Linked DNA regions of Homo sapiens: all the other regions are linked to region 1. The links are contacts of gene promoters, found by promoter capture Hi-C in blood cells and fetal thymus (Javierre and others, 2016). All regions are on one chromosome and are shown on one strand. The core of a region is centred on a gene start or on the middle of the fragment in contact, and the rest is flanking DNA. Distances in the headings are between cores, read along the strand shown. Region 1 holds the start of APPL1 (adaptor protein, phosphotyrosine interacting with PH domain and leucine zipper 1). Region 2 overlaps SLMAP (sarcolemma associated protein). Region 3 overlaps SLMAP (sarcolemma associated protein). Region 4 overlaps SLMAP (sarcolemma associated protein). Region 5 overlaps SLMAP (sarcolemma associated protein). Region 6 overlaps SLMAP (sarcolemma associated protein). Region 7 overlaps SLMAP (sarcolemma associated protein).

Evidence for each region. Contacts are between HindIII fragments. The CHiCAGO score rates a contact against its expected background, and 5 or more counts as called.
Region 2: a fragment that was not itself captured here is called in contact with the fragment with the promoter of APPL1 in region 1 in 8 of 17 cell types (naive B cells, naive CD4 T cells, naive CD8 T cells and 5 more); the score reaches 6.4 in naive B cells.
Region 3: a fragment that was not itself captured here is called in contact with the fragment with the promoter of APPL1 in region 1 in 7 of 17 cell types (total CD8 T cells, naive B cells, M2 macrophages and 4 more); the score reaches 7.5 in total CD8 T cells.
Region 4: a fragment that was not itself captured here is called in contact with the fragment with the promoter of APPL1 in region 1 in 3 of 17 cell types (naive B cells, endothelial precursors and erythroblasts); the score reaches 7.4 in naive B cells.
Region 5: a contact is called between a fragment that was not itself captured here and the fragment with the promoter of APPL1 in region 1, in 6 of 17 cell types (naive CD8 T cells, endothelial precursors, megakaryocytes and 3 more). The highest score is 6.8, in naive CD8 T cells.
Region 6: a fragment that was not itself captured here is called in contact with the fragment with the promoter of APPL1 in region 1 in 2 of 17 cell types (naive B cells and endothelial precursors); the score reaches 8.6 in naive B cells.
Region 7: a fragment that was not itself captured here is called in contact with the fragment with the promoter of APPL1 in region 1 in 1 of 17 cell types (fetal thymus); the score reaches 5.1 in fetal thymus.

What each region holds. Positions count from the first base shown.
Region 1 is chr3:57,226,182-57,229,481 of GRCh38, reverse strand. APPL1 (adaptor protein, phosphotyrosine interacting with PH domain and leucine zipper 1) reads right to left here and starts at 1,753. Exons shown (of 22, transcript NM_012096.3): 1 at 1,545-1,753. The coding sequence starts at 1,598. It also overlaps a transcript of HESX1 not described here. RefSeq lists a silencer at 1,296-1,955. The HindIII fragment of the contact is 8,451 bases long and covers 1-3,300 here.
Region 2 is chr3:57,888,540-57,891,839 of GRCh38, reverse strand. It overlaps SLMAP (sarcolemma associated protein), which reads right to left. Exons shown (of 25, transcript NM_001377540.1): 15 at 1,740-1,799. Among named protein-coding and RNA genes, the nearest start is that of FLNB, 120 kb to the left of the region's middle. The HindIII fragment of the contact is 170 bases long and covers 1,752-1,921 here.
Region 3 is chr3:57,863,350-57,866,649 of GRCh38, reverse strand. SLMAP (sarcolemma associated protein) reads right to left here. Exons shown (of 25, transcript NM_001377540.1): 11 at 1,934-2,102; 12 at 1,793-1,843; 13 at 1,358-1,408. Among named protein-coding and RNA genes, the nearest start is that of SLMAP, 110 kb to the right of the region's middle. The HindIII fragment of the contact is 770 bases long and covers 1,217-1,986 here.
Region 4 is chr3:57,842,175-57,845,474 of GRCh38, reverse strand. The region is part of intron 4 of SLMAP (sarcolemma associated protein); the gene reads right to left. Among named protein-coding and RNA genes, the nearest start is that of SLMAP, 88 kb to the right of the region's middle. The HindIII fragment of the contact is 3,716 bases long and covers 1-3,300 here.
Region 5 is chr3:57,816,626-57,819,925 of GRCh38, reverse strand. All of the region lies in intron 2 of SLMAP (sarcolemma associated protein), which reads right to left. Among named protein-coding and RNA genes, the nearest start is that of SLMAP, 62 kb to the right of the region's middle. The HindIII fragment of the contact is 917 bases long and covers 1,151-2,067 here.
Region 6 is chr3:57,793,104-57,796,403 of GRCh38, reverse strand. The region is part of intron 2 of SLMAP (sarcolemma associated protein); the gene reads right to left. Among named protein-coding and RNA genes, the nearest start is that of SLMAP, 38 kb to the right of the region's middle. The HindIII fragment of the contact is 168 bases long and covers 1,507-1,674 here.
Region 7 is chr3:57,766,479-57,769,778 of GRCh38, reverse strand. All of the region lies in intron 2 of SLMAP (sarcolemma associated protein), which reads right to left. Among named protein-coding and RNA genes, the nearest start is that of SLMAP, 12 kb to the right of the region's middle. The HindIII fragment of the contact is 215 bases long and covers 1,404-1,618 here.

The DNA.
Region 1 (3,300 bases), core at 504-3,003:
AAAAAACCACAATTCTTAAGTTGTAAACTAATCTGGCAAAAACCTCAAGACATTAGATGAGTCAAGAGTTTATCTCTGCCTCACAAGTCATTTCCAGGGCAGTGTGCAATCCATTCTGAGCCGTTTATAGTCTTTATGGGCTATTAAAAAAAAAAGCCAAGTAAGAGAAGAAAGGTAAGGCAACCTGTTGAATCTTACATAATAAAAAGTAAAATGACAAAGTACACCTGACCAATTCCACAAACTTTTTGCAAATCATCTGAAACAAATACAGTTTATAACTTTATATGGAGAAATCATCAAGAAAAAAATTGAACCGAGTATACTGGCAGTCAAGATAAACCAAATGTGAGTTTCTCTTTTTGTCACTATCAGCTGTTAAGAGTACATTAGCAGCAGGCAACTGGCCTGTGAAGATAACTTTCAGAATAAAAAAGAACAAATCAATTCTACAATCAGAGCCCCATTTCAACTTGGCAATTAACATTGGCACAAAATCCATGGCAGAAGTGCCATCCAGGAAAAGGAGATCTAGACCTCTTCTGCTTTTCTTCTTTGGGGGCCATGTTCAACTGTAAAGACACACGAAATGGTGCAACTGCATTTCTAAATCAGCAACAATTCAGAAATGTTTCATTCTAAATAGTGTCCAACCAGCAACACCGTCTTAAACCGTTTAAATTATCGTGTAAAACGGCTTAGAGATGAAGTTTTCCCTATGCAAGTTACAGCCCCTGCCAACATTTTAAAAAATATAGCTGCTTTCATTCTGCAGTACTGAAAACATATTAAATGGTTACATTTTCCAAAACTGTCTTAAGCTAGAGCAACCACATCAGCATCATTCCGACGCACAGAACACAGGGCTTTTATTTTGATGAGTTTATTAAGGCCAAGTCTGCAGGGAGCAGCGCAGCAGTCGCGGAGCGGCGAAGGCACCGTCCATCCCTCGCCGTGCACAGCTCGAGTGACAGCGACCACAGTCACGGCCGCGACACGGGCACATTCGGCGGGGAGAGCGGTCTTGGGCTCCGGGACCCGTCACGGGCTTTGCCATTAGGGCTCCACACACAACCTTACAGCCTCTCCCAAAGAAAAACGATCCATTTCCTTCCTTAGCTTGCTGAGCCTCGGAAATCATTAAATAAGACTATCGGGGTTTCTCTCCCTTCTGCAATTTTTCTGAAGAGGTTCTCAGGGAGAAAATTCCAGGATCGAGATTTGGCACCTCACATCACCGCGATAAAAACGGCGCCTTTCGTCAAATAAAAAGGACCCGCGCGCGTACGTGACCGCCCGGCCCACGAGCACCAGCGGCTCGGTCTCCGCCTGCGGCCCTCGGCCCAGCCGAGCAGGCCCACGCGGGCCTTGGGCGGCGGGCCCAGCCTCCACAACTCCGGGCGCGGCCTGCGACGGGCGGTGACCTAGGGCGGCGGCGGCCCCCACCTGGGCCGGGGCGGGCACCTGCGGGAGCCGCGGAGGCGCCAGACCTGGGGTCGGCCAGCTGGGCTCTCCCTCGTCGCCCACCAGCTCCCGCGCCTCACCTGCGGGCTGTCCTCCAGCGTCTCCTCGATGGGCAGCTTGTCGATCCCCGGCATCGTGGCGGAGGGAGGGCGGTGGCAGGAGACGCAGCTGCCGCCCACAGCTCCCCGCGCCGGCCCGCCCGCCGCAGCTGACCCCGGCCCGCCCTCTCCGGCAAGGGCTGCAGCCGTCCCCGCCCGCACAGCCTTCTCCAGGCGCCGAGCGGCCGTGCGGGAAATCCCGCCCCCTCGGCCTCCCTGCCCCGCCTCCCGGCGCGTCCATTGGCTCCCGGGGACGCCCATCCGCGCTGCGGCGGTGGTCGGGAGGTTCCCGTGCGGCGCTAGGCTCTCCCGCGAGCGCGGGCGTCGGAAGCGGCGGAGGTGGCAGTGTCTGCCCTGGGATGGCCTTCCCTGCACGCGCGCGTTTGTATCTAAATCGCAGGGGACCGTCTCTTCCTCAGCTTGCCGGCGCGAGGAGCCAGAGCCTCGAGTTAGGGCCACACGGGGGAATTTGGGGCGGGTTGACTTTTCCCGCAACATATTTTGTCAGAGACCTTGGAGAAAGTCCTACTGCTGGCGCCTTTTAGTTTCCTCAGATGATAACATTCCCAACTCCGCTCGAAGCGTCCAGTCTTAATCCCCTCCAGCAGAATGGTGCTGACTAACTCAGATGTCTGAGATCCGCAGCTGTGTCAATAATAGGGCTTTCTGGCAAACTTGTGAACGTAGGCTCGAAATTGTTTTTCTGGACGCTTGAATATCAGTATATTCAGTTGAAAACATGTGATTTTGTTGCCAGTTTATCAGTTCCTACCTGGCCTCCCGAGGTCAGTCCTTCAGGACTGACGCTGCAACTCCAACTCCCATGTTTCTTTTAAATCACAAAGGAAAATATCTTTTAAAAATCAGGATACACTGATTAATTATGTTAGTAACTAATTGGCATTTGTTGAATCAAAAAGTTTTGGAAGCGTTAAATAGTTTTAGCCTCTAATTTTACAATAAAGTGAAGCTCAAAGTTGGGAATTTGACCGGATGAGGGCTACAAGCCTATCCTTTCCTCCTCCCTCTTCATCTTTCCCAACCTGTCACCCTGGCTCGTTTATGTCTCTGTATAGTTGTAGGCTTTCATCATTATACAGAGAAAATAACAAAGTAAGTAGTGTCTTCTAAACATCTAGCCATTAATTCCACCAATCCATTCCATTTTCATTCAAGAAATACCAGAGATGCTGAGTAAAGATTAATTAGCTGCCTGGTTCCACAGATACATGGGAACAAATCCAGAATAGTAGTAGCTCAAATCCAAATATAGTAACAAATAGAAGTTATATATTTTAAACGAAAATAGTAGATTTTCCCATGATCTCTTGAAAGAAAAATAAAATTATATTTTTAAAGTTTTGTTGAGTAGACTTGCATTGTAGTTTTACGGAATTATTTTTAGTGTTACAATCTTTAAAAGTTTTCCCCTTAGATTGTTTATCAGCCAGTCTCTCTCTCCCGAAGAGTTCTTTAGTTTTTGAGGAAGTTGATTTGGAGGCAGTTCTTACAATGAGTTAAGGGTTCCCAGTTGTGTTACAGTTTCTTTTTCCTTGATATCTCATTTCTACTCTGCCAACAAGAACACCATGCACCCCAGCTCTAAAGAAGGAAGACTTTCAAGGTAAGTGACCTTCCTGATTGAACTGAGTTAGATTTTAAATGAAGAAAGGTTGTGGCAACTGTTAAGAATCAGGAGTAAGTGAGGAGTGTAAACAATGTATAAGAAAGAAAAAAA
Region 2 (3,300 bases), core at 587-3,086, 660 kb before region 1:
TTTGGGAGGCCGAGGCGGGTGGATCATCTGAGGTCAGGAGTTTGAGACCAGCCTGGTCAACATGGTGAAACCTCATTCTCTACTAAAAATACAAAATTAGCCAGGCATGGTGGCATGCGCCTATAATTCCAGTTACTCAGGAGGCTGAGGCAGGAGAATCACTTGAACCCAGAAGGTGGAGGTTGCAGTGAGCTGAGATTGTGCCACTGCACTCCAGCCTGGGCAACATGAGCGAAACTCCGTCTCAAGGAAAAAAAAAAAAGGGTTAAAAACCCAAAAGTGGAATTGTTGGATCAAAAGGCATGTTCTTTAAAACTTCCAATAAACAGTTTATAGCCAGGTTTAAAAGGAAATCATACAAAGATAAATATTTAAAGTGATGATATTCTAATTACCCTGATTTGATCTTTATACATTAAATGTATCAAACTATAAAACATATCCTGAAAATATGCACATTATGTATCAATAAGATAAAAACAATAAATTAAAAAGGGAAATCAGTAATGCACAAAACTTTTCCAATAATGATAAAACATAATTTCAAGAAAATATTTTCTAATTTAGAATGCATTAAATATAAGTGATAAGATAGCAAGATATTTTAATTAAAGAAGCATTTTTTTTTTTTTTCCTAAGGCTCTACTTCAAAGTGCTGGCTATTCAACCAACTAATCTGAATAGGTATTTGGATGGTGAGGTAAAAGCTATTTTAAGGTCTGTTCTCATCTCACTTTAATAAGGTGAAAAAAATTGCCATATGTACTAAAAATAGTTCACTGTTCTGAAACTCAATGCCTGTTTGCCAAAACAATATTAATGATGCATATTCTATGCATTTTTTCCCCAAATATGGCATCTGCCGTGCACAAAATTCAGAATGGAAACCACGAGATATTTGAAATAACACCATCCTCTTACATGGTTAAAAAAGTCAAATGAATCCAGTTACTTTAATAAAATAGAATGTACTAAAATTAAGTATCTCAAACTTTTGTAACTCAATGTTTTAATTGGCCAAAAGGACTGTGAATCTAGTTTTAAATTTTATACTGGTATAGTCTAATGAAAGTTCTACTATGATAAACACATGCCACCAAATTTATTTGCCTAATTTCCCTATGTATAAAAGTGACTTGACAATATGGTGCTTTAAAACTCACTTTTCTTCTCTGACAACTGTAACAGAATTAACACAATAAACTACTTTGGGCAATTACTGGACTACTCATAAAATATAAGAAGATTCTACATTCACAAAAGTCATTAATTTTGTTTAAATCAAACTGAGATGCCAAAAATTAAGGAAATATTAAACATCATAAGAGATTTTAAAGGTACTGTAACCCCCAAAATAGAAGTGCAAGCATGTTTCACTTAAGTTGTATCACAAACGACTTACATTGTGTTTGATTAAAATTTGAGATCAAAGCTGAAATTAATGCTGGGAATGACAGAGATTGCAACAAATCTTTAATACCTAAAGAAACCTATATCAAGTACTAACATTCAAAAAACCATAAATATACATCCACTTAAAAAGACACATTCCAGTTACGATACCCTTCTTAAAACAGAAGTCTGATTATTTTATATATTATCTGATACTGTTACTGGCTTGCTATTTTGTGAGCTATAAGAAGTAAACTGATGGTTAAAATACTATAACCTTGAAAATATACACTAACCTTCATTATCCAAAAGAACTGTCAAAAAACATAGAAAAACAGAAAACAAACCTTTTGAAAGCTTTGTTTCTTCTACCGCTTTGGTTAGATGCCCTTCGACGATCAGCTTCTCTGCCAAGGAAAATAAACGTTACCATCCAAGCCCAAACTGAGCAGCATTTCCCTGAGCTGGGCAGTGTAACACATTCCATGACCAAATTTAAAGATGATAACATTACTCCTATGACCAAGCTTGAATAAAAACTTGAATCTGGAAGGGGAACTAAGAGAACTGGAACTATGACGGAGCAATCACGTTAATGCAGAAAACTAGGGGCAGGCAGACAATTTGCCTTTTATTTTCACCTTATTTTAAAAGCCTAGATATTTTTATAAAAAGGGCTCAGAAGAAATAAAGCAATCCTCTTTAGATCAAGGCTATTAAGTTAAAATAAAAGATTTATGAAAAGGTATTTATTCAAATGAAGAAGTAATAAAAATTAAGTTATATCGATAGTTTACTGTTCTCTGCTGACATAATTCAGCAGAGATGCCTATATAATGTATTTCAGTAAATGAATCATTTTAGAAAAGCTATTCAAAGAAATAAAAAAATTTTGTTTTGTTTTATGGGGGATTTTCTGTAAATGTATAATGCTACTTTTTTATAATTTAAAGTCATATTTTCATATTCCACGTTTCATTGAAGAGGATATATCTATTCTGTGTCCCCTTATTTACTCCTGTATGTCAGTTGGTCTCCTTCAATTTATTCATTTGTAATATATGTGAAGAAAATTTTCTATTCTCTTGCTTTACAACCAACTGCAACTTGGTCTACATCCACCACTCAACCATTGAAACTGCTCCAATATCATTATAGCCTCTAGTCTCCCAATGCCCATGGCTCCTTTTCTTAATTTTCATTTCTCATAGGCTCTTTGCAGTATGTGGCACTTTGTCTCTGACTTTTTAAAATCAGAAAGAGGGGCCGTGCGCAGTGGCTCACGCCTGTAATCCCAGCACTTTGGGAGGCCAAGGCGGGTGGATCACGAGGTCAGGAGACAGAGACCATCCTGGCTAACATGATGAAACCCTGTCTCTACTGGAAACACAAAAAATTAGCTGGGCATGGTGGCGGGTGCCTGTAGTCCCAGCTACTCGGGAGGCTGAGGCAGGAGAATGGTGTGAACCCAGGAGGCGGAGCTTGCAGTGAGCAGAGATGGCGCCACTGTATGACAGAGCGAGATTCCATCTCAAAAAAAAACAGAAAAAAAGAAAAAAAAACAGAAAGTAACAGATTTTGATTAAGATGTATAATGTAAGCTGTCCTACCTGTCCTCTGTCCTACTTCACTCCATTCCTAAAATTCACTTCCTACAACTTTTAGCCATTTCTTCTGATACTTACATTTATATTTCTAAATAATACATTGATTTTATTTTTCCATTTTAGATATTTATTGAGAATCTATTTTACACGGTTAAATTTTGCCATTTTCTACTACCATCCTCAAGAGTTGCATTTTGTCAATCTATAATCACTATTTTTTTTTTTTTGAGACAGTCTCACTCTGTCACCAGGCTGGAGTGCAGTGACACAATCTCAGCTCACTGCAACCTCTGCCTCCCGG
Region 3 (3,300 bases), core at 352-2,851, 640 kb before region 1:
GCAATGAATATAAACTACACCTTTAAAAATTCTCAAATTTAAATTCCATCAAATTGGAATTTTAAAAAGTCAATGCATTTTACAAAACATACGTAGAATAGTCAAACAGCAATGATTAATGAACATTTTTCTTGAGAGTTTCAAAATTCATTACATATGCAAATAAGGTTTTGACCTTGCAGCTAACATACACACAATTACCTGAGCCTATACTGCCAGCTCTTGATTAAAACCTGACCAAACAAAACCAAACCAAAAAAGAACCAAAAAACCCACCTCCTAACTCTACCAGTTTGATTGCTGCCCAAGAACTATTATGATATCCCTTGATACATGGAAAAAATATTTTGTCTTTTCTTTTCTTTTCTTTTCTTTTTTAAAGACAGGGCCTTGCTCGTCACCCAGGCTGGAGTGCAGTGGCACAATTATGGCTCACTGCTGCCTCAACCTCCTGGGCTCAGCTGACCCTCCCACCTCAGCCTCCCACGTAGTTGGGACTACAGGCGCACACCACAATGCCTGGCTAAGGGAAAAAATATTTAATAAGTTCTGGGTATCAACTCTGATATCTTCGACTAACTTCTGTAGAAAACTGAGATGAAAGGCACATAGATTGGTAAACACAGAAAAGAGTTTAATTTCTACTGTACTCCAAGCACCTAGCGCAGGGTCTGGCACATAGTTGGTGCTCAATTAATGTTAGATGGAAGGGGAGAGAAGGAGAATGACTAGGGATCTTCAAGACTGAAGGATAATAGAGGTCACTGGGTAAAAAGTACCCCGTGTAGTGACAGGAAAACCAATAGTGGCTATATGTTTTTGGCAAGAGAGAACCCACGCTGTCCAGAAAGAAGGGTCACAGAACCAACAACTAATAAAAGATTTTTCTGATGGCAGAAAAAACTGACCCTGTTCTCTCTGATCAATGAAACAGATGGATAAACAAAGTAGTTTCTATGATATGTCCAAGGGCTCAATAAGCTGTTAAATAAACTCGAATGTTTTAAATGGGGGTCAAGTATCACTGGAGGCAGAACTTGATGAAACAAAATGGTAGTACAGCTCTTCGAAAAACAGAGTGGGGAAAAAGATCTATATTATATATTGCTAAAGGTGAACTTAATAATTTTCTGATTTGAGTAATTGAAATTTCCATATAACAAGGGATATCTAAGAATTGATCACAGCATCAACTCTTACAAAATAAAGGAAAGCTTGATTTTTAAATGATGGGGTTCAATGATCTGTGAGAGCATGCTTTTCATTCCAAACACTTAAAACCCTGAACTCCTTATCCTGCTTAAATACTAAAATGATATCATAAAAAGTATATATATATTTAAGTTTTTTACACTACCTTTTTCTGTGCTCCCATTTATTTTAGGTAAGAAGTCATCAACTTGTATCCCTAGGATTAAGACAGTATATCATTGCCTGATCAAAGAAGTATTACTTTAAATGTGGTCTCAAGTGTAACCATGGCATTCTGCATTCCTAAGATTAAGATTGTATAGAACACTTTAAAAGGGATCCTGCTGTTCATGTACTTTTCTTATTTAAATATCCCGAGGTAGAAGATCTCAGAGCAGAAATTTCACTCATCTCAAGGAAAACAATGGTGCCCACTGGTGGCAATCAAGCATATTTTTAAAGAAAATTTTCTAAAAGAATATAGATACTTTATACCTAATACATAAAACATCCCTTAAAAAATGCAGTGTGAGACAGTAAACAAGGTCAAAAGTTTAAGGATAAAATTCAGGTTTAAGTAAGAAATATGGATGCCACCTACCCAAGCTGCTGCATTCTTTAAGAGTTTTCTCCTGAAGATGTTCTAACCGTACTGTAAATAAAAGTCCAAAAAAAAAAAAGATATTTCACAGATAACAAGAAAAAAAATAAAATAAAATCAATTTCTGGATTAGCTACTTACCTTGTAAAGCTGTTAGCCTTTCATTGGTGAAATCATTATCAGCTTGCAAAGCTTCTATTTTTGCCTGGAGCTCCTGTTCTTTTTCTTCCATTTCATCTATTTTATGTTGTAATTCTTTTTTCTCAGCCTGTCCCTTCTGTTGGATTTCCTCTTGTTTTCCCTCTGCTACCTAGAAAAATAAGAAAATTCAGTTATTTAACAAACCTAACTCTGTTTTAAGAGCGAGCCCCAGGAATGCCTTTATTCACTTAAACTTCTAAGAAAAGTTTGTTCTGTAGAAAAGAAATGTTCTACAGAACATTATCTGTAAACCTGACATTTCTTTCTTTCTTTTTTTTTTTGAGATGGAGTTTCACTCTTGTTGCCTAGGCAACCTCCGCCTCCCGGGTTCGAGTGATTCTCCTGCCTCAGCCTCCCAAGTAGCTGGGATTACAGGCATGCGCCACCATACCCAGCTAATTTTGTATTTTTAGAAGAGACGGGGTTTCTCCATGTTGGTCAGGCTGGTCTCGAACGCCTGACCTCAGATGATCAGCCCACCTTGGCCTCCCAAAGTGCTGGGATTACAGGCATGAGCCACTGCGCCCGGCTAACCTGACATTTCTAAACCAGTAAAGATGATAAAGACAAAGGCTTGATGTCAAAAATTATCTGCATTGGGTTATTCCTCCATAACACCCAGGAGAGAGAAACTTGGAGGAAGCAAGTAGGCTCAGTACACACAGAGGTAAAGGGTCAATGTGGAAAAAAAAATCGTATTTTTAAAGAGGGAAGTAAGATTTTTCCCTAAAATTACTATCATTTCAATTTTGAAGTTCTATCATGTTAACATTCTGAAATTTTAAACAAAATTATTTAGTAACGAGATGACAGTACAATCACTATTCAAAAAGACCTCTCTGCCTATAGTTTGGATGTTCGTCCCCCAAGCCTCAATGTTGAAATTTGATCCTCAGTGTTGGAGATGGGGTCTAATGAGAGGTGTTTGGGTTATGGGAGCAGATCCCTCATGAATGGCTTGGTGCTGTCCTCATGGTAATGAGTGAATTCTCACTCTATTAGTCCTATGAAAGCTGGTTTTTAAAAAGAGCCTGGCACCTCTCCCAGACCCTCTCTCACCATGGAACACGTACCAGCTCCACTTTGCTTTCTGCCATCAGTGGAAGCAGCCTGAAGCTTCAGCCTGCAGAACTGTGAGCCAAATAAACCTCTTATCTTTATAAATTACCCAGGCTCAGCTATTCCTTTATAGCAACAAAAATGGACAATGACAATCTCCTTTTAACAAGACCAACTTTGAAAACTATCATAGGTTAACCAACGGAGGTATGCTCTGGTCTTCTCTAACAAACACATATCTTCTAGGC
Region 4 (3,300 bases), core at 313-2,812, 620 kb before region 1:
AAATAGGAATAATTTTGATCCCACCTTAATAACTGCAAACACTGTAAGAACTGGTCTAATTCAACTAGTCACAAATACACTAAAATGCTGAATAAAATGGAATATTAACTACCAGCACCCACCTCCCTTCTGAGCACCCATGATACAGACTTCATTGAGCCTACATAAACTTTACTGTCCTTCTTTGATTATACATCTGTGTTCTCAGGAACTATGACCTATTCACCTGTATATGCCCAAAGCCCATCAGCAGGCCCTAACAAAGTTGGTGCCTAGTAAAGATTTTTTTAAAATTATGTATAACTTTACTCCAGAACATTGAAATAGGCATTTTAAACAATAATTTATTTTTCTTGAATATAACAAATATTGATTATGGAAAATGTGTGAAGTAAATCATGAGGAAATACATAAAAATTACTCAATACCAGCACTCAGAGATAACCATTGTGGGTATATATCCTTTTCTCTGCAGATATGCACATATAGTGAAATGAACTTAAGAATGTCTAAATGCCAGATGATTTGAGGTTAGGAGTTTGGGAACAGCCTGGCCAACATGGTGAAACCTGTTTCTACTAAAAATACAAAAACCAGCCGGGTGTAGTGGAGGGCACCTGTAATCCCAGCTACCTGGGAGGCTGAGGCAGGAGAATCACTTGAACCTGGGAGGCGGAGGTTGCAGTGAGCCGAGATCACACCACCGCACTACAGCCTGGGCAACTGAGCAAGACTCCATCTCCAAAAAAAAAAAAAAAAAAAAGTCTAAATAGAAACAAATGGTATAATAGGGATTTTTTTTTTAATTCACCTTTCTTAGTGACCCAAGTATAAAATCTTCTCATAACAATCCCATTAATAAACAAATGGCTAAAAATCCGGCAACACATTCCATAAGTGATATACATCTGTATTTTACAAAAACTACCCTGGATATAAGTATATTCTGAAGTATGAATTAAGTTCATATGCATATACAAACCATAAGAAGGAAATGTGGAAAATGAAAATAGTTACTTAGTGTTAGAGTGGTGGGATTATATGCAATTTTTTTTTTTAATTTTTAAAATTTTTTTTTGTGGAGACAGAGTCTCACTCTGTCACCCAGCCTGAAGTGAAGTGGTCTGATTTTGGCTCACTGCAACTTCCGCCTCCGGGGTTCAAGCTGTTCTCGTGTCTCAGTCTCCTGAGTAGCTGGGACTACAGGCGCTCACCACCACGCCCGGCTAATTTTTTGTATTTTTAGTAGAGACGGGGTTTTGCCCTGTTGCCCAGGCTAGTCTCAAACTCCTGAGCTCAGGCAATCTGTCCGCCTCAGAGTGCCAAAGTGCTGGGATTACAGGCACGAGCCACCTGCGCCAGGCCTCTCTGTTTCTAATCATTAGAAAATGGTTGGCCCAGGTGCAGTGGCTCATGCCTGTAATCCCAGCACTTTGGGAGGCTGAGGGGAGCAGATCACCTGAGGTCAGGAGTTTGAGGTAGCCCGGCCAATATAGTGAAACCCCATCTCTACTGAAAACACAAAAATTAGCTGGGCATGGTGGTATGCACCTGTAATCCCAGCTACTTGGGAGGTTGAGGTAGGAGAATCACTTAAACCTGGGAGGTGGAGGCTGCAGTGAACCGAAATCATCCCACCGCACTCCAGCCTGGTTGACAAAAGTGAGATTCTGTCTCAAAAAAAAAAAAAAAAAAAAAAGAAAGAAAAGAAAGAAAGAGAGAGAAAGGGAGAGAAAGAAAGAAAGAAAGAAAAAGAAAGAAAGAAAGAAAAGGAAGGAAGGAAGGCAATTATTGGCTGGGCCTCTTTGTTTCTTATCATTAGAAAATTATTGACCAGGCCTCTCTGTTTCTTATCATTTAAAAATTATTGGCCAGGCGTGGTGGCTCAGGCCTATAATCCCAGCACTTTGGGAGACCAAGGTGGGTGGACTGCCTGTGCTCGGGAGTTCAAGAGCAGCCTGGGCAACATGGTAAAACCCATCTCTACTAAAAGTACAAAAAATTAGCTGGGCGTGGTGGTGTGCACCTGTAGTCCCAGCTGCTCAGGAGGCTGAGGCACAAGAATTGCTTGAACCCGGGAGGTGGAGTTGCAGCAAGCCGAGATTACTACACTCCAGCCTAGGCAACAGAACCAGGCTGTCAAAGAAAAAAAAAAAAAAAAAAAAAAAAGGAAAAGAAAGAAAGAAAAAAGAAAACAAAACAAAAGGAAAATTATTTGTGCAGTGTAATAAAAATTAAGGAAGGAAAAAAGTCAGCTTGTTGAGTACTTACTATCTTCTGAAGTTCTTAAAAGCAATAAATGCTATGTACACAATGGAACTTAAACTCTAGGCTTTCTGGCATACCCAAAAGCATCTTAATGCTTTTAAAAATTAGTTTACAGTAATAGAAACAGCTAAAGTTTATTGTGTGCTTATTATATGCCAAGTACTATGCCAAGTTCTTTAAGTACTAAATCTTGTTTAATTCTCATAAAATTCCTGTTAAATAGGTACTATCATCATCTTCATATTTCAAATGAGAAAAATGTTGCCTGATCAAGTCACAGAACAAGTGGAGTCAGACTTTAAACTGGACTACCCAACTCTAAAGGCCATTCTGATCTTCCTCCAGCTCTGGAGAATTGCTTGTTCAAAATTCATCTTCTCCAGAAAGTTAGATTATGTATAACTATATTGGCAGCAAAAATTTAAGTGATACTAATATTTAACCATATAAGAAAAGACAAACAATGAGAAGAAAATGGGCAAAGATGAAAAGAATTAGAGAAACACAAAGGATAGAGACACAATACATTCCAACTGACTTTGAAAAAATTTACAAGTTCTACTAGATGGAACCTGAGAACACAGATGATTCCTTACGTAACTGTTCAAAGTTTTCAAACTGCATGAAAGAAAAATCTCATTATCAAATACAAACATCAAGGTCTTTAAGAAGCAATATATCATTAGTTGATTAATAGTTACTCATTTCTAAAACCTTAATTCTTAACTCTTAAAAGCTAAGTTATATTAAACTTCCTAAAGTTTATTTTAATTTTAATAATTAAGCTGTAATCGCAAATAGAAAACACATTAATGTTTTAAATTTACGATATTACTTCATATGCCAAGGACAAAAAAAAAGGAAAAAAAGAATTAAAATGTTTTAAAACCTATGCTATTTTGCTTCAGATATCTTGAAAAGTAAACAAACAAGGAAAAGTATGTGGCTTCTAACAAGCATAAAATAAATGATTCTACTGAAAGCACGGACAGTAATGGGAGGGCCTCGCTCTGCTTAATCTTTCCTTCTCAC
Region 5 (3,300 bases), core at 360-2,859, 590 kb before region 1:
CCAAAAACTACCTGGGTGTGATGGTGTGTGCCTGTGGTCCCACCTACTTGGAGTCTGAGGCAGGAGGATCACTTGAGCCCAGGAGTTTGAGGCTGCAGTGAGCTATGAGGCACCACTGCACCCCAGGCTTATGACAGAGTGAGACCCTGTCTCAAAACAAACAACAACAAAAACAACACCTTACCCATAGAATAACAGCCATGTTTGCCACAAAAGGAAGTACCCGTGATCACATTTGTGGGAAAAAAAGAACAAGGTCACTAGGTTTAAAGCCTTATAAACTGTTTAATAATGCATACAATGGGCTCCATCTAAGGATAGTTGATATTGATCTATACAGTCATTAAGAGGTAGGAGAGAGAGAAACTAAAAGAAAAAAATTTCCATTAAAGATTGGTAAAATTGGAAAATCATAGGACTATGCATCTTATTTGTGGGGGGGAAAAACCTGCCCACACACAAAGAATTTATTTGGCAAACAAATTCAGTGGAAATGTTAAAAGACATAAATAGTACACCTGCCCAAAAAAGAACATTCATAGCTTTTAAAAATGCTTTAAATTTATGAGGTAATGAAAATAATTATGATGGCCTTTTCATTCTTTAGGCACAATCATTCAAGTTGGCATATAACTTTGTTTCAAACATCTTGGTCTTTACTCATATTTCTTCGTTTTTAGTCATAGTTAATTCTTTGAGAGATATATCTCCTCAAGGCTTTGAAAATTTAGACATCCACAGGTAAGTTCTTTAAAAATTATAATAATTCTACTTTGAAAGACAAAGCAAACAAACTTTCTGGGGACCATAAGTGAATAAATGGAAATAATAACAATGCAATTTATGAAACAGTCATTTTGTCTGAAATGGGAAATGACTATTTGGAAGAAGGAAAATAAACTCCTTATGTGAGTTTAGTACAGAGGCTCTCATTTTTCTGCTGCCACATGATTCAGCTGTTCAAACACCTCTCATGATATCCAGCACTTCTCAGAATTAGTAATGCTCCCAGTTAAGAATCACTAATTCTTTTAAAATTTTGAACTGAAATTTAGTAATAGAAAGTATCACATTCAAATTCTATCTCTATTTATGACTTAAACATAAGTCCCTAGACATTTTTCCCTAGGAAGTTTTTGGAGCCAAAGCTTATGAAAGTATGAAGTTTTCTTTTAAAAGCATTGCTGATTTCTTTCACTACCATCAAAGGTAACATCACTTATATCCAGAATCACTTATATACATCACTTATATACAGAAGTTTTAACAAGAGAAAGCAAGATCAAAGAAAATTATTCTACAGTGACAAAAGGGTACCACATAATTTACAATAATCATTGCCAGTTTTTGAGTGCTTACCATGTGCTTGGATAAACTACTCTGCATGCATTTTTTCACTTAATCTATATAACACTCTCATGAGGCAGATGTTATATTATCCCCATACTTCAGATAAAGAAATCAGGACTATGGCCAGGCGCAGTGGCTCACGCCTGTAATCCCAGCACTTTGGGAGGCCGAGGCGGGTGGATCACCTGAGGTCGGGAGTTCGAGACCAGCCTGACCAACATGGAGAAACCCTGTCTCTACTAAAAACACAAAATTAGCTGGGTGTGGTGGCGCATGCCTGTAATCCCAGCTACTAGGGAGGCTGAGACAGGAGAATCGCTTGAACCCGGGAGGCGGAGGTTGCAGTGAGCCAAGATTGCGCCACTGCACTCTAGCCTGGGCAACAAGAGTGAAACTCCATCTCAAAAAACAAAACAAAACAAAACAAAAAAGAAATCAGGACTAAAAGAGGTTAAGTAACTCGCCAAAGGGTCTCCTAAGCTAGTAAACTTTAGATCTCAACCATTCTGCTATACTACTTAATGTTTATCTGGCAATTTTATATCCACTATCTCTACTATTTCTCCAGACCGCCTATAAAACAGCAAGGATTCTGTTCATTTTATAAATCAGTAAATTTAGGCTGACAAACCAAGTGACCTATCTATAGTCACAATGGTAAGAATAGTAAAATAGCAATCAGACCTTCTGATGCCAAATCATCAGGAAAGGTAAGCTTTTAAAAATTTCTTTCAGAAATTCATTCACTACCTGCTACCACCTATTTGACACACAATCCTAATAAATTTGGGTTTTCCAGTTTCTGTGTCCATGACAGAGTAGAAGGGAACTAGCTTTTGCTCATGCTAGGAGCTATACTAGGTACTTTACATACACTACCTCATCTAAACTTCAGAACACTATGAAATAAGCAGCATCCCACATGAGCCAACAGAATGAGGAGTTAAAACATAAGTCCAAAGATTATACAGAAAGAACAGCAAACAAGGCCGCTTAGACTCCTCATGAATATGGCAAATTCTTTGAAGATTGGGGTATTCCCAATCCTAAACAAAATGCCTTCTGAGCAGGAACCAAATAAATATTTTAAATAAATATTACATGACTGTAACATCTACAACCTAGACTCATCTCATCATTTACCCATCATTTCCTGAGCATCTCTTAACAGAAATTCAGTCAGCAGCCACTAATAATAGAATGGATTTGTGACCATCAGAAATCACTTACAGTAAGTGCATAATAACGGTAATAATACTATCAGTAATAATAAATAATATCAATAAAACCTCAGGGCATCTAATGTGTCACCAATTCCTATGATTTCTGATTCAGTAAAATCTCTCAATTGCATACTGCCTTTCCCTTCCGATTACAGTTCCTCTTACCCTAACCATTGCCAAGATAATTCCACACTCTACACCCTCCACACTGATGCTAGACTTATTTCCTAAAACACAAACCTGATCACATTGTTTCACTTTATAAAAAGACTGTTGACCCTCTGCTGACTTCAAAATCAAGTCCAAGAGCTGTGACTTTCAAAGTCTTTCAAAATGACCCTAATCACCCTATCTAACCTAATCTTCCTCTTTTTCTCAAAGTACTATCCATTCCACCCTTGCTTAACTACTAGCAGTGCCCCTGCACAAGCCCCAGGCCTCTCTGTCTTTCCTTATGCTGCTCTTGGACTTCAAAAGCCCTTTGCTTCCACCCACTCATACTCTCTACCTGTTAAAAGTCACCTTTTCTTTCTGAAGTTCAGTTTAAATAGCTTAACAAATAAGATTTCTTTCAGATAACATTTCTCACAAAATAAACACTTTCCCCCAACTAAATCCAAGACTCAGGCTTTATTCCAAGTTAAGCAGCTAACTCTCACATCTCTATTTCCAAACCACACTTTGAGTAGCACTATAATCTGATCTTTTCCATGTTTCATTCCCTGTC
Region 6 (3,300 bases), core at 341-2,840, 570 kb before region 1:
ACGATCCATGCTCTTAATTACCAGGCTAGACTATCCTAATTCCACACTCTTTCAACCACATCATGCAAAGTCTCCTGGAAGTTTATTACAAATACACAAAACAGCTGAGGGACTTTTATTTTACTAAACATCCCAGAAGACTCTACCGTTTGAAAACTACTATTCTGATCTTAACAACAACAAAAAAGAGCAGAACACTTAATAAAACTCCTCCCATAAAACCTTTGATAGTTATATTGGTGGATGTTTTAAATATAGAAGGGAGAGCCAAGTAAGAGAGTACTCAAAATGGTTAAAATACATGTTTATGGCCTTAAATTAGGCAATGGCTTCTTAGAAATGACACCAAAGGCACAAGTGACAACATGAATTTAAAATGTTTTAATTACTAAAAATTACTTATAAAAATAAAAATAGATAAATTGGACTTCATCAAAATTAAAAATATTTACACTTTAAAAGATACTATCAGGACAAATACTATATGATTCCACTTATTTGAAGCACCTAGAATAGGCAAAGTCCTAGAGACAGAAAGTAGAATAGAGGTTACTAGAGGCTGGGGGAGGGGGAAGGGAGAGTTATTATTTAATGGGTACAGTGTTTCTGTTTGGGATGATGAAAAAGTTCTGGAAATGGAGGTTATAGTTACACAACACTGTGAATGTACTTAATGCCACTGAAATGTACACTTAAAATTGTACAAATGGTACATTTTATGTTATGCATATTTTACCACAATCAACACCACCAAGACAACCCACAGAATGAGAGAAAATACTTACAAATCATTTATCTGATACAGGAATTATATCCTGAATATACAACTGATAATCCAATTTTTCTTTTCTTTTTTTCTTTTTCTGAGACGCAGTCTCTCTCTGTTGCCCAGGCTGGAGTGCAGTGGCGTGATCTCAGCTCACTGCAACCTCTGCCTGCCAGGCTCAAGCAATTCTCCTGCCTCAGCCTCCCAAATAGCTGGGACTACAGGTGTGCGCCACCATGCCCAGTTAATCTTTTGTATTTTTAGTAGAGACGGGGTTTCACGACGCTGGCCAGGCTGGTCTCAAACTCCTGAACTCGTGATCCGCCCGCCTCAGCTTCCCACAGTGCTGGGATTACAGGCGTGAGCCACCATGCACGGCCCCAATTTTTCAAAAGGATATAAATCAATATTTCTCCAAAAAAGATACATACAAATGTCTGATAAGGACATGAAATGATGCTCAATTATTAGTCATTAGATTATCAGATTATTAGTCATTAGAGAAATACAAATCAAAATCATTAGATACCATTTCCTACCCACCTGATGGCTACAAAAAAGACCAACATTAAGAAGTATTGACCAGGAAGTGGAGAAATTCCTGGTGGGAATGGTATAGGCACCTTGGAAAACATTTTGGCAGTTCCTCAAGATGTTAAACACGGAGTTACCATATTACCTAACAATTCAATTCCAAGGTATGTACCCAAGACAGCTGAACACAAATTCACACAAAAGCTTGTACACAAACTTTCATAGTGACATTATTCATAACAGCCGAAAGTAGAAAACAGAAACTCAAATGTCCATCAGCTGATTAATGGACAAATAAAATGTGGTAGCTATCTCTAGAATGGAATTTTATCCAGCAATGCAATACCTACATAAACTAGAACTTAGATGAAGCTTGAAAATGCTAAATGAAAGAAGCCAGACACAAAAGACCACATGTTGTATCATTCCATCGATATAAAATGTCCAGATAGGCAAATCTAGAGAGACAGAAAGCAGATTAGTGGTTGCCAGGGTCTGAAGGGAGGAGAAAATGGGGGGGTGACTGCTAATGAATACAAACTTTCTTTTGGGAGTGATGAAAATGTTCTAGAATTAGGTAGCGGTAATAGATGCGCAATTTTGTGAATATACTAAAGACCACTATAGTGTACACTTAAAAAGTAAAAACAAACTAAAATGGTTGAGAAATTCATAAAAAAACATAAATTTTGAAACGAAGTGCTTATAAGTGTTAATATAAGACTGTAAGTATGTGACTTTTGAAAGAGACTCAGGACAGTAAAAGCCAAAGGATAAAGACAAAGTCTTTGTGGTAACTACAGACCATGGAGACAAAGATAGAAATGCCAAAACTGTCAGAAAATTAAGAACCAGGAGAGTATAGCGTACGAACAGAATTTTGGAAAGTTCTATTAAAATGCACACTAAAGAAGTTAGGAAAGTGAGTTTCAGAATAGGGAGAAAATAAAAAGAACAGCCACCAAAACTAAATCACTGAATGACTCATCTAAAAAGTTTCCTGATGACTTTAGAAAACTGTTTTTTTGTTTTTAAGAAAGGGTCTCTCTCTCTCTGTTACCCAGGCTGGAATACAGTAACTCGAACACATCTCACGGCAGTCCTAACCTCTTGAGCTAAAATGATCCTCCCATCTCAGAGTCCTGAGTAGCTGGGGCTACAGGAATACACCATCACACCCAGCAGGATTTTTTTTTTTTTTTTTTTTAAGAAAGATAGTTCTCACTTTGTTGCCCAGGCTGATCTTGAACTTCTGGGCTGAAGTGATCCTCCCACCTCAACCTCCCAAAGTGTTGGGATTACAGGCATGAGTCACCGCACCAGCTTTAAAAAATAAGCGAAGGTTTACCCATCAGAAAAGAACAAGGTTAAGAAGGTACATATATTATCTAAATTCATAAAACTGAAGGAGATATGGGCAGATTTCACCAAATGCTAGTAGTTGAGGACAAAACTAAAATTTAACCAGAATACTCTGGAAATGTATGAAAGTATTGCTATTACACAGTAAATTAATAGGACAAATTAATTATGCTGGATTTGCTGCCAATATTTCAGAAGCACTCTCATTTGTTCTAAATAGGCTGAGGTAATGATGAAAGATAGATGATGGTATACTGAACACTAGAATGTCAGCTCCATACGGACAGAAACTTTTATCAATTATAGAATTGAGCTCAGCACACAAGAAGTATTCAGTGTTAGCTAAATGAATCAACAGCACTTTGAAATCTATAAAATATCATACATGTTTTAGAAATTCATATCTAGAAATGAAATGTTAATGAATTTAAAAAGTCATTGATATCTGAGATCTAAAACTAGAGTTTCAGGGAAGAAAAGAATTAACCTCAAAAACTGGAAGGACATAAGAAGCCTACAGGGTGTAGGGGTGTAAGCCTGTAGTCCTAACTACTTGGAGGCTGACATGGGAGGATCACTTGAGCTCAAGAGGATTTTTTGGGTTTTCTTATTGAGACAGGGTGTCACCTGGGCAGAGT
Region 7 (3,300 bases), core at 262-2,761, 540 kb before region 1:
CACAATAAGGAAGCAGAGAGAAAAATCAAACTATATGGTACTTCAAAAGTTGCTCTGTTAATCCTACCTACCTTGAATACTCACTCACTGTCTTCTACTTCCTATATCCCAAGCTGCTTTCACTAAGCTATTACTTCATCTAACATTCCTTTTTGGGCCTAGGTGCGGTAGCTCACCCTGTAATCCTAACACTTTGGGAGCCTGAGGTGGGAGGGTTGCTTGAGCCCAGGAATTTGAGACCAGCCGGGCAACATAGTGAGACCTTGTGTCTTAAAAAAAAAAATCCAGCCGGGCGCGGTGGCTCATGCCTGTAATCCCAGCACTTTGGGAGGCCAAGGCGGGCGGATCACGAGGTCAGGAGATCGAGACCATCCTGGCTAACACGGTGAAACCCCATCTCTACTAAAAATACAAGAAACTGGCTGGGCGTGGTGACAGGCGCCCTGTAGTCCCAGCTACTCAGGAGGCTGAGGCAGGAGAATGGCGTGAACCCAGGAGGCAGAGCTTGCAGTGAGCCAAGATCGCGCCACTGCACTCCAGCCTGGGCAACAGAGCAAGACTCCATCTCAAAAAAAAAATAAAATAAAATGAAAATCCTTTTTGGAGATATAATTCAAACACCATACAATTGCCAATTTAAGTATACAATTCAGAGTTGTGCAACCATCGCCACAATCAATTTTACATTTTCATCATCCCAAAAAGAAACTCGTACCAATTTGGCAGTCATATCCTATGTTAGTCAAGGCTCTAGAAAAACAGAACCGATTGCATGTACATTTATATAGAGAGATTTATCTAATGGAATTGGCTCACGCAACTGGGGTGGGGGGTGCTGGCAAGTATGAAATTGGCGGGGCATATCATTAGACTAGGGATTCAGGGAAGAGCTGTTGTGTAGTCTTGAGTCCAACAGCTTTGTGAGGGCAAAATTCCTAACTTCAGGGGGACCTCAGTCTTTTTTTTTAAGGCCTTCGACTGATTAGAGAGGCCCACCCACATTATGGAGGGTAATATGCTTTACTCAAAGTATAATGGTATAAATGTTAGTCACATCTAAGAAATACTTTCACAGGAATATCAGGTTGGTGTTTGACCAAAAGTTGGTCAAGTGAAAAACTGATACCACAGCCTAGCCACACTGACATAAAATTAACCATCACATTCCTAATTACCCTCAGCCCCTAGAAACCACCAATCTTTGTTTCTATGAATTTACCTATTCTACACATTTCATATAAACAGTTGCCCAGGCTGAACTTGAAATCCTGGCCTCAAGCAATCTTCCTGCCTCAGCCTCCCAAAGTGCTAGGATTACAGGTGTGAGCCACCACACCTGGCCTGCTTGACTTTTTATGAGAATGTATTCCTGTTATTTGTATAAGTAAAAAATAAGAAAAGCTTGAAAGTCTATATTGGAAAATCCTTTCTGCTTGGCTCAGCTAGAATAAGTCAGTACTTATATATAAATAAAACTGTAAGCCTGAAAATATTGAGAAAATCTTAACACACAGTTTCTATGTGCTTAAATTTAAAATCCAACCCAAATTGTATACTTGACAAAAGATACAGTACTAACCACCAAACACGTCCATATTTTCAAGTGCCTATATAAGCTTTCCTTCTTTTCTTTACATTTGTCAGCTACTCTCTTATAAAGCATGAAAAATGTACATGGCCAAACAAGTTTTTCCAAGGCTGTTTCATTCATTTTCATATATACCCAAAGCCAAATCAGTTTGCCTGAATGCAAGCCCAAGAAAAAATATTGTATTTCTAGGAGTAGTAGAGGTAAGTTTTTAAAAATGTTAGCTGACTCAGAGAAATAATTAACTTGAGTTATTTCAGTCTTTGAAAGTCCGTAATATGACAAGTTTCGGTTATACATCAAAAAGCAATAGCTTAGATTACCTTTCAAGAGAGCAAAAGACAGATTTTCATAATAATTGCTCAGTCCCTAAGAAGACAGTTCAGAATAAATGTCTAATAGTTGGCTTTCATTTTGGGGGGAAAAAAACTCCCATAGTTACCACTAGATGATCTTGTACAAATAACCTCTAAACATCAAACTCTTTTTGGACAAAAGCGAGCCAGACTGCAGCTGTTTTACTTACCTTCTAAGAGTGTTATATAGACCAAATGAAACAAGAAAGCACTCTGATTATTCTAAAACCTTTTAAAATTATTTTGTGTGAAATTGTAATAGTTCATATATATAATTTCATATCACCAATCACAAGATTTGGATCTACGATCCAAAAACACTTAGCAAAATGTTTTGCAAACTGCAAGCTCTCAATAAATAATGACTTATACAAAGACTACATATTGATAATTGAGTCCATGATCTCAAATTGAGAACTAACTTGAATGACTTTCTGCCCTTTAACACTGCACAGGTTTGCAGAAATACAAACCGCTCCATTGTTCACATTTCCCTCATTCAAACATGAATGTAGTGCCTATTCTCTTGCTCTCAAGAGTTCACATCTGATGGGACAGTAGTACATTTGCATCATAGTTATTTTGTTGTTTATGTCCCATAATGAAATTATATACAGGCCGGGTGCAGTGGCTCACACCTGTAATCCCAGCACTTTGGGAGGCTGAGGCAGGTGGATTGCTTGAGGCCAGGAGTTCGAGATCAGCCTGGGCAACATGGTGAAATCCCATCTCTACTAAAAATACAAAAATTAGCCAGGTGTGCTGGGGGGTGCCTGTCATCCCAGCTACTTGAGAGGCTGAGGCAGGAGAACTGCTTGAACCCATGAGGTGGAGGCTGCAGTAAGCCAAGATCACACCACTACACTCTAGCCTGGGTGACAGAGAGGGACCCTGTCTCAAAAATAAAAATAAAAATAAATTTAAAAAAAAGAAATAAAGAAATTATACACAAAGTTAAATGGAAGTATAGAGGAAGAAGCAATTAATTCTTCAGTTAAAGGGAGTCAGGGAAGGTTTCACATTGGAACTGAGCCTTAAGGGATGACAAGAAGAGGTCATTCTAGAAGACAAAACAGCAAAAAAAGGCACTTGTTCTAGAAACAGTGAACACTGTCATACAGCTAGTACACAAAGTTTGGGGTGAAGAAAAAACAGTAATAAAAGAGAGAGCTAGAAAAAAAGAAAATAAGATATAGATTTTAATGCTAAAAATTAATGAGGCAACGTCAAAGATTTTTAAGCAAAGGTGTAACTATTTATCTACCTATATAGTGTCAGTAAGAGAAGCATGTACCTGAGAAGAGGAAAGAGTCTGGACTGTAAACTTAGAACGTTTCAGCCGCTAATAAATGCCAC